2 separate regions of the Homo sapiens genome follow, and region 1 is linked to region 2. Evidence: promoter capture Hi-C in 16 types of primary human blood cells and fetal thymus (Javierre and others, 2016). All regions are on one chromosome and are shown on one strand. The core of a region is centred on a gene start or on the middle of the fragment in contact, and the rest is flanking DNA. Distances in the headings are between cores, read along the strand shown.

Evidence for each region. The method cuts DNA at HindIII sites, captures the fragments that hold promoters and counts their contacts. A CHiCAGO score of 5 or more calls a contact.
Region 1: a contact is called between a fragment that was not itself captured here and the fragment with the promoter of HYAL2 in region 2, in 1 of 17 cell types (endothelial precursors). The highest score is 6.5, in endothelial precursors.

Annotation. Positions count from the first base shown.
Region 1 is chr3:50,168,583-50,172,847 of GRCh38, reverse strand. The region is part of intron 2 of SEMA3F (semaphorin 3F); the gene reads right to left. Among named protein-coding and RNA genes, the nearest start is that of SEMA3F-AS1, 15 kb to the right of the region's middle. RefSeq lists an enhancer at 1,511-2,484 and a silencer at 2,900-3,110. The HindIII fragment of the contact is 1,841 bases long and covers 1,405-3,245 here.
Region 2 is chr3:50,321,495-50,326,003 of GRCh38, reverse strand. HYAL2 (hyaluronidase 2) reads left to right here and starts at 3,259. Exons shown (of 4, transcript NM_003773.5): 1 at 3,259-3,351. It overlaps TUSC2 (tumor suppressor 2, mitochondrial calcium regulator), which reads left to right. Exons shown (of 3, transcript NM_007275.3): 3 at 1-1,095. RefSeq lists a silencer at 1,167-1,356 and enhancers at 1,565-2,066, 2,849-3,522, 4,156-4,495. The HindIII fragment of the contact is 6,890 bases long and covers 1-4,509 here.

The sequences.
Region 1 (4,265 bases), core at 1,076-3,575, 150 kb after region 2:
TGGCATGGAGCCTGGATGCCCTGTTCTTACCCTGGCTGCCCACCAGGCAGAGGGCACAGCTGGTGCACAGCAAGGTCCTCACTTGGTCTGAAGCAGGTTAGCCAGGAGACCAGAAAGCCCTGCTGGACACACTGCCCTACGGACCCCAGCTTCCCCCAGACCCTATAAGGCTGCTAATGGTGGAACTCTCAGGCCACCTTGAATGAGCCAGGACAGTCATTTCTGGGAAAGAGGCTCTCTCCCTGGAGCTACAACCCTGGGGCTAAAGGCAGGGTTCAACTGGGTCCTCTAGTTTCCCTTTTGCATGAGTCCAGCAGCCTTGGCCCCTCCAACTCCAGGATGCTGGGGAAAAGTCCTTCCTAAGGATGAAGGACAGGAGGGGGCTCAGACAATGACAGACAAAGGACTCCTAGAAGCTTGGGAACCTGCCTCCAAGGGGAGGGAGAGCCGAGGGGTCCCCTTGGCAAGCCCCCTCTCCACCCACCCCCAGCTATCTTTAGCTCAGCAAAAGAGGGAACACTGTAATGAGGATGATGAATATTCACACACACAGGGGGCTTAAGATAGCAGCACACAGAAGAGTGCATGCATGTATACACGTGGCACAGGCATGCACATGGCGCACACATGTCCTACCACACATGAGGCACTCACCAAGGGGGTCACACATGTCTCATCTCCCCTCCCCAGCTGGTAACCCATTTCACAGGTGGGGCAGTCAAGGGAGAGGCCTGGGCCAGGCCCCAAGGCACCTGGAGGGGGAGAACAGCTGGGATCCGAGGCCCTAGACACAGCCTGAAGGTGGGGCAGAGGTGGGCTGGGGTCAGGGGGTTCCACCAGCTGACCCAGAGCCCATGTCTGGTCCCAGGACCTCACTCTGAGAAACTAGTGGGTAAGGAAAGGTCTTGCCCTGCCTGGCCCTGACTATGCGGTGACAAGGGAATGCAGGTGATGACCTTGGCCAACCGCTGGGACGCAGGGACGCCGAGGGATCAAAGGGCCGATCCTGCCTGGCGATGGCCTCACCCGCCTGTCCAGCGGCGCCTCTGAAGTCCTGGGCAGGGCGGCCCAGGCACCTGTCCCGCACCTGTTGTTGGGCCACTCGGAGTCCCCCGCCTGGCCGCTCACCCGCCTGGCTGCTCACCCACAGTGACAACAGGAAAGTAAACATTCCCCCACCCCCAGGGCTGGGAAGTGGCCAGAGAGGAAGTGGGGCTGCCAGTGGAGCCCCCCCAGGCTGGGACAGCCCGCCAGGGGTTATTTATACCCTGGCTGGGGGCATGGCTCGGTCATGCCCTTACCCATCCCCTGGGCTAGGGGGCACTTTGGGGGCAATGGCAGGGGGAGGGGCTAGAGGCTTAAGTGGGCGCCTTCAGACACGGGCACTCCGGGTAAGGGGAAGCTTCAGCCATTAAGCCCCCAGGAACCCAATCAGCCATAATCCCCAAGCTCCAACCCTGCGCAGCCTTGGGCCTCTATAATATCAACCCTGCACCAAGACTCCCAGAGCCCGAGGCCCAAGTCCGAGTCCCCTACCCTCTTGCAAAGCCCCAGCACTCCCAAACTCCAGCTCCCTCTGTGAGAAAGGCCGTAGAGAACACTCAGAGGATGAGGAAACTGAGTCCCAGCTTAGGGGCAGAGGATTGGCCTCGACCCTCTCTGCCTGCTGCCCCCAGTCTGCCCCTGGGTGGAGGTGGGGGTGGAGGGAGCCCCTTGCTCAGTTATCGAACACCCGCTGTGCACAAAGCCCTGTGCTCACAATACCAAGGGCACAGGGCACAGGGAAGGGATGTGACATGCCAGAGTGCATGGGGGTGGGATTCCCACCTAGGTCCATGGCTGAAGGAGGGGGAGGCCCAGGGGAAGCCAGTCCTGGTGGTAGAGACTGCCTGCCAGGAGGGCCAGGGCCGGAAGGTGACTCGCTCCCCGTGGACAGGGCACATGACTCAGGACCTGCGGGACCCCTCCCAGTGGCCACGGGATATGGCGTCAATGGCTCTGGTGTCACAGGACGTGACGCTTTGGTCACTGTGGAAACAGTGTGGGGGGAGGGGGAGCCCCAGGAGGTCGCGCATGGTGGGGAAGGGGTGGGACCCAGGATCAGGGATCCTTGGCTATGGCTTGAGTTTCTGGGTGAGCTTCATGACCTGAGTTGGGGGCACTCTCGCTCTCTGAGCCTCATTCTCTAGTCTAGACCATCTCTCAGGCCCTCCTGGTACTGATATTCAAAGTGACCCTGAGGATCAGTGACCCCGTTCTGATCTCAGAGAGAGGCTCACGGCCTGGCATTCCTCAGGTCTTCCCCCAACCCATCCTTCATGGGTGTCTCTGCCTTTCAGGGAAAGGAGAGTGGAATGAGGTCCCAAGTCCTTCCCCAAGGAAGCAGGCTTCCACGTGTCGCTATCTCTTGTAGGGCATCCATCCCCATTCCCACCCCAGCTACTCCATTTCCTAGTGCTAGATTGGGGAGCAGAGAGGGCTATAAGGCAGGAAGAGGCAACCTGTGGACTCAGCTCCAGCCTTCCCAACTCCAGTGTGTCCTTACCCCATCCCCAACCCACAGGAATAGAGCTAAATCCCAAACCATTCATCCAAACCCAGCCTACCAGAGGGGAACCAAGGTGGAGAGGGGTGGGAACTTCCCCGGGTCCCAGAGCAAAGAAGGTGTAAGGTTCCAGCCTTCTCAACCCACAGCTGGACTTCTGACCCCACTCATGCCAGACTGTAGGTGAAAAGGGAAACAAGGAGCCCTGTGACAGCCCTGCACCCCCAGCTGCAGACAGGAAGACTGAGGCCCAAAGGAGAGTGGTACTCAACCCAGGTCACAGGGTGTCCTGTCCCCTGCTCCCCACTCCACCATGAGGCAAAGGAACTGGGAGCCTTCACTCCTCCAAGCAGCCTGAGTCAGAGCAGGGGGTGGGCAAGTAGCCCTGGGTATCCTCCTCCAAAACCTGCCATCAGCAGGTGCCAGATCCTACCAGGCCCCAGCTCCCTTAAGGGACAGGGACTTGGGACAGAAGGAACAAAGGAACCTGGGACCTGAGGTGGCATCAGTGGGGGCCAGGGCTGATGCAGACCCAGCCTGGTCATGTCCTAAGGCCAATCCCCACATCTGCTCCACTTGTCCCACGCCCGGCTCTGGCAGCAGGAGCGCCATGCCTCCTCGAATGCCATGGCAATGTTGAGGGAGGGGCTGGGCACAATCAAGGGTTCTGTGGGGATCAGGACTCCAGCCCAGATAAGCTTTGACCTTAGGGGGAGGAAGGGTGGTGTGCCTGGGTGCTGTCTCCTGGGAAGGGCTCCCCACCCCCATACTCTCACCCAGGCTGGGCACAGGTTGGGAGGGGTGACATCCGGGAAGGATTTTCCCATCATCGGGAAGGAAGAGCCTTTTCTGGCATCAGACACCTCATTTCCGCAGCCATTCCTGGCCTCCAGGACTCTCTCATGGCCATCAAGCACTTGGGGTCCCAGCCCAAAGCGGCCTGGCACAGGTCCAGAGGCAGGACCTTCTCAAGGCACACGGGGCTGGGTCCTGGGGGCCCCCGGTCCCTCATATCTGGGAAGCAGCTGGTGATACCTTACTTTAAAGGTGCGGGCAGGTGAGGACAGGCACTGAGGAGGCGTGTCCACAGCCCTCACCCGAAGACCCCAAGTGGGCAGCCCCTACCCCTTGCTGCTGGTCTCCAGGACATCAGGTCTGCGTGCAGTGAGGTGTGGGCTGCCGCAAAAAGAGGAGTCTTGGAGCAGAGGTGGGCAGCCCGCCCCCTTGGTTATAGCCCCACAAAGCAGCAGGCCCTGACTGACAGCGTCACCTCCCCCAGCAGTGATGGGGACTGGGGATGATAGACAGATCCCTGCAGCCTAGCTCAGACCTCTGACCTCTAGTGAGCCAGTGCAGCCCTAATCCCTGAGCTGAAGAGAGATGGGACTGGGGGACAAGGGGAGGCACCAGCCTGGGTCTTTGTCAGTGTTTCACCCACCGGAAAGACAGACCTCCTGACCTTCTGAGGAGGGAAACTGAGGTAGCCAAGGCTATAGTAGCAGTGGCGGCAAGAGGCATGGCAGGGCCCAGGTGGTCCCTACCGGATACCCCCACAGGATCCAGGAAGGGGTGGCCCCGGCCCTTTTATCACTCCCCCAAAGCTGTGAGGAGCCCCAGAGGAAGGCCTGGGGACTGGGCTGGCCCCCTGGCTCTCAGCCTAATCCTCTTTTAATGAGCGGCCAGCCGGAAGGCCTCAGCCCATGGCCACAGACCTACAACC
Region 2 (4,509 bases), core at 2,010-4,509:
TTGGCCCATAACCTTCAGCTGTGAGCGGGTCGGTCCCACAGTATTGGTTGGGTGTTGGTTTGTGTGTGGACAAGAGGTGGTTGGTGGGTGGTGAAGGCTAATGGCAGAGTTAGCACCCCACTCTCCCAAGCCACCCCTGCAAGCAGCACAGCAGGGCATATACCAGTCAGGAATGCCCGTTACCTGGTTCCTTGCCTGGTCTGCTTTCTTCCAAGTTTGCCTGGGGCCTAGCCCTGCTAGAGGCTACAGCACTTTACAAGCAAGGTATGCTTTCTTCCAGCCCCTAGGCTGTGGGCACTGTATACAAGTAGGAACTTCCTTTCCTTCACTTCCCTTTTAACCCCTAGTCAGAGCATTTCAGCCGTTTGCTACCTCGATTCCTCCTGTGTTGGACAGAGGCTGGGGGCAGTGCCAGCCTGATTCTTCCGACCTACCTGCCATTTGTTCCCGCCTTCAGATGGATGGACAGTTTGCTGGCTATTGATAGGAGTGGGGACTGGGTGGGGGCTTCTCCCTCTACCCAGGGCTGGGCTGATCCCCCTACTGCAACTAACTGTTGCCCCCCAACCCCGAACCCCCAGTTGAGGAGTTGAGAGAGTGCAGGCTGGGGTCAGGACAGGCTGCGGATGCTTGTGCCTATGGGGAGTTACTCCAACCCACCTATTCTGTCTAATCTCCATGGCTTTGCACCAAATCCTCCACCCCTCCAATTGGGAGGGGACTGTTCACCACCTTGTGGTAAGGGACAACACCCTAAGGCTGGTGCCAGTAGTTATGAGTAGCCTACCACCCCCTCCCTTACAGTAACCCCCACCCCTTCAGGATCAGTCAAGGGAAAGCACTAGAACCCCTGGGTAGGGAAAGAAAGGAGGGAAAAACCATAAAAGGAATACTTATAATGTGAAGGTTTGTAAATAGTCCATGATGATGTCGTGGCAGAGTCTGATTTCTATATAGAGGTGACTTTTTTTTTAAGTACTGTGCAAGCTCTGTGCTTCTATAATGTGGGAAATGGCTTGGGGAGGATGGCCCCTAGCTTAGGAAGACTGTTGTGTTATTTGTTCAATTTCAATAAAATGATTTGTAGATCCTGCACATGAGAGTGGCATCCTGTGGGGGCTCTGACACCCAGTGTCTAGACTACCACCTGGGTTCAATAGGTAGGCCTGGCACAGGACTCTGGCAGGCCCCCTATGACCAGCAAAGCCCAAGAGTAAGTCTGAGCCCAGCCTGTGGCCATCCCAACTGTGGCCAGCAGGTGGCTGTGTGTTCACACAGACCTCACTGCAGGCCCCCTGCAGGGTGGGAGGGCACTCATTTATCTGTTGTGATCCATGTGGTGGTGACCCTTGGAATCAGAAGGCCCTGGGATACTTCACTAAGGATTGGCCCCACCTGCCTGATCTAAGGTGAGAGAGTGTGACCCAAGATAGTTCTGGAATATCTGTCTTAGCTGTAGCATCGCCAGCTGATCCTAAGTGGGGTCATGGCCTGACCCCCATGGACCTCAAAGGCCCAGCTTTAATGGACAGCAGCCAGATAGGTGTCCCCACGCCTTTGGCCTACTGCCAGGCTCAGCAACCCAAACTCATGTGCCTCCTCTGAGGCCTGCCTGCGGACACCATGGGAGAATGAGCTCAGGCTGCTGTTTCAGCAAGCAAGGCTCGGCCCACTAGTATTGCCCCTGCTGTCTGTTGCCCCCATCTTCTCATCACCTGCAGCCTGCCCACTGTGGTCATTCTGCCTGCACTTCTCAGGGGCTGCTATAAGGCAGATTCTCTACTAGGCTTAGGCTTTGACTATCAGTCCAACTCCCAGTTAAAGAGGGGAGATTTCAGGGACAGGCTTCTGAGTGTAGGGAGCTGGTCTGCCAGTCTTTCGGAGGTTTGAACTTGTCAAGGCTAGGGCAGGATCACCATATCCAGCCTGGACTTGCAGTTCTGTGGGGTGCCTCCCCATACCCCCATAAGATGCCAAACATGAGGCCCTGTCATCCTCCATGGTCCCCCTCTACTGGCTGTTCAAGGCCCAGGGCTCTCCCATGCCAGATAGCATCCTGTCTCCTACCACCACTGTCCCAGCCTGAGGGAACTCCCTGTGCTGGGCCTACCCAGCTGACCCCATCGCTGGAAACAATGGGGGTCAGGCAACACTTCCCCACTCTCTCCCGCCGGGCTGTGCTCACTTCCTTCCTGCTGGCTGCCTGAGGAAGTGTCCCTGCCCTGGGACAGTCTGGCCTAGCCTTTGTTTCCCCGGGGGTCCCCACCCATGGAGCTTTCAAGGCTTCTGGCCCCTGTGAAGCCAGCACAGTGGTACAGGGACACTGCACCTTCCCCTACCATGTCTTGGACTCCTTGGTCCTCAGGGCCAGACTCCTGGGTATTCACCTACCCCTCACACAGCCTTCTGTTGGGGGAGAGGCTCCTGGGCATTGGGCCATTGGGTTGTTGAGGGGTTGGCTCTGGGTGATTTGAGGGTAGGTAGATTTGCACCCCTGGAGAGGTCTGCTGGAACCTTGCTGCAGTCCTCCCTAGGGCCAGCCACAGGAACACCCCTCCCAGAGGAGTATACCCCTTTCCTCATCCATGTTGTAAGGAGCCCCCTACTCTGTATAGTGGACTCTGAAATCCATCCAGGAATGAACTCCAGCAGGAAAGCACTCTGCAGAACCCTCCCAGTCCATCCCCTCCTCCCCAACCCACACAGTCACACTCACTAACACATTGTCCTGTCACACAGGATGCGGAAGCTCTCAGTGGAAAAAAACGGACTCAGCTACTGGAAGTCCCCCCGACCCTCCCCCCAAGGCTAGTTCCCTTCTTGGGCACCTGCTCTGGGGGACCATCAGCTGAACGACCCCCAAGTATTTTGACTCCCAAAAGCACCACCACCTGACCCCATCCTCTCACACCCTACTGGATTTGAGGATGGGCCCCAATCCTAGGGAAGGAGTGAAGAGGTTCCCTAGTGTTGGAAGCTGTGGGTGTGGGGGAGATTGGCACCTGATCCTGAGCCCATAGCCTTCCTGTCACCTGGCGCAGCTGGCGGGGCCAGATCCTACTCGGGAAGGGTGGGGAGGGCAGCCAGCCAGCAGGGCATTCTGGAGGGAAACAGGGTCAAGGCGATCTCCTCCCCCACGCCTGTTCCTGGCCCTTTCCTCTCAGGGGGCAGCAGGAAGTGAGGAGAAAGGGCTGGGATGGGAGGCGGGAGCGGATGGGAGGGAATGGGGTTTATCAAGTCCTCGGCGAGCTGCCCAACGGGCAGCAGCTGGCGCAAGTAGCCTAGCTGGAGAGGCTCACCCCAGGAAGGAGGGAGGCCACCGACCTACTGGGCCGACGGACTCCCACACAGGTGAGCCCAGAGCAGACGGCTGGTCTGCACCCCCACAGATGCGCTCGCAGTTGCACTCCCTCCCTCTCCTGGCGCCCGGGAGGGTTAGGGGCTGGTGGTGCAGACGCGGGCCCTTTTGGGAGTTGAGTCTCGCACAAGGGAGCGGACCTAGGAAGAGCCGAGGTGGTTTCGCACGGGGCTCGCCAGGGTCTAAGCCTGCCCCCCACCGGGAGAGGCCTGTGGAGCGTAGGGGGCGCTGGATACGGGATGGAGGCCCTGGGAGACCCCTCTTGCTGGCTTTCTCGGAGGTCCAGCCAGAAACTGCTGCAAGGAATGGAGGCCTCCTCGGGGTTGAGAGGGAGCCGGGCTCCCAAAGGACCTCAGAGACTGGGCAGAAAAGGACGGGATCTCAGGGATGACTGTCCCGCCCTGATGCGAGTCAGGGAGAGGGGCGGCCAACCTCCTAGACCCCTCTGAGCTTCCCTGACCCCAACCCTGCGGCCACGCCGCGACCCAGAGCCGGGCTGCCAGGATAACGACTGCCTCGGCCCTTCCTGGGCCGGCTAAGAAGCGGTGCTTGGCCCCTTCCCTCAGTCTGGCAGGGGGCGGGGCCTCCCTTTAGACGGCGGACCAGAGAAGGGGGCCCCTGATTCGTGGGAGGCGGGGCACTACTCTCCAGGAGACCAGAGGTCGCCTCAGGTCAAAGTCCCTTTTTCCACACAAAGGGGACCCACGGCTGGCGTCTACGTTAGGGGGTGCAGAGCCAGATCTGGTGCTGCCCCCTGCCAACCTCGGAGTACCACAGCACCTCCTGATGGCCGAACGGGGCAACGCCTCCTCCTATTCCCCCCCCCCCCCTTCCCGTCCCCCTGCCTTGTCCCTCACACTGTCTCTTTAAAGGGCTGGCGGCGCCGCGGAGCTGGGAGGACTGAACCACCGGCCTCGGGCTGCAGGGGAAACATTTCAGGCTGACTGGCGCTCGTGGCTGAGACTCCCATAGAAAGCCCGGCTCAGAGGGGCATTAGGGTCCTAAATGGGCGGCCACGTCCCTCTGCAGAGGACCTGGGGCTCTTCGAGCCCGAAACGAGGCACCGGCACCGAGAAAGGTGGACCACACCTTCCCGCCCCGTCCGCAAGTCCAATCCCGGGCCCACCTCCGCACTGGAGTCTTAAAGGGCC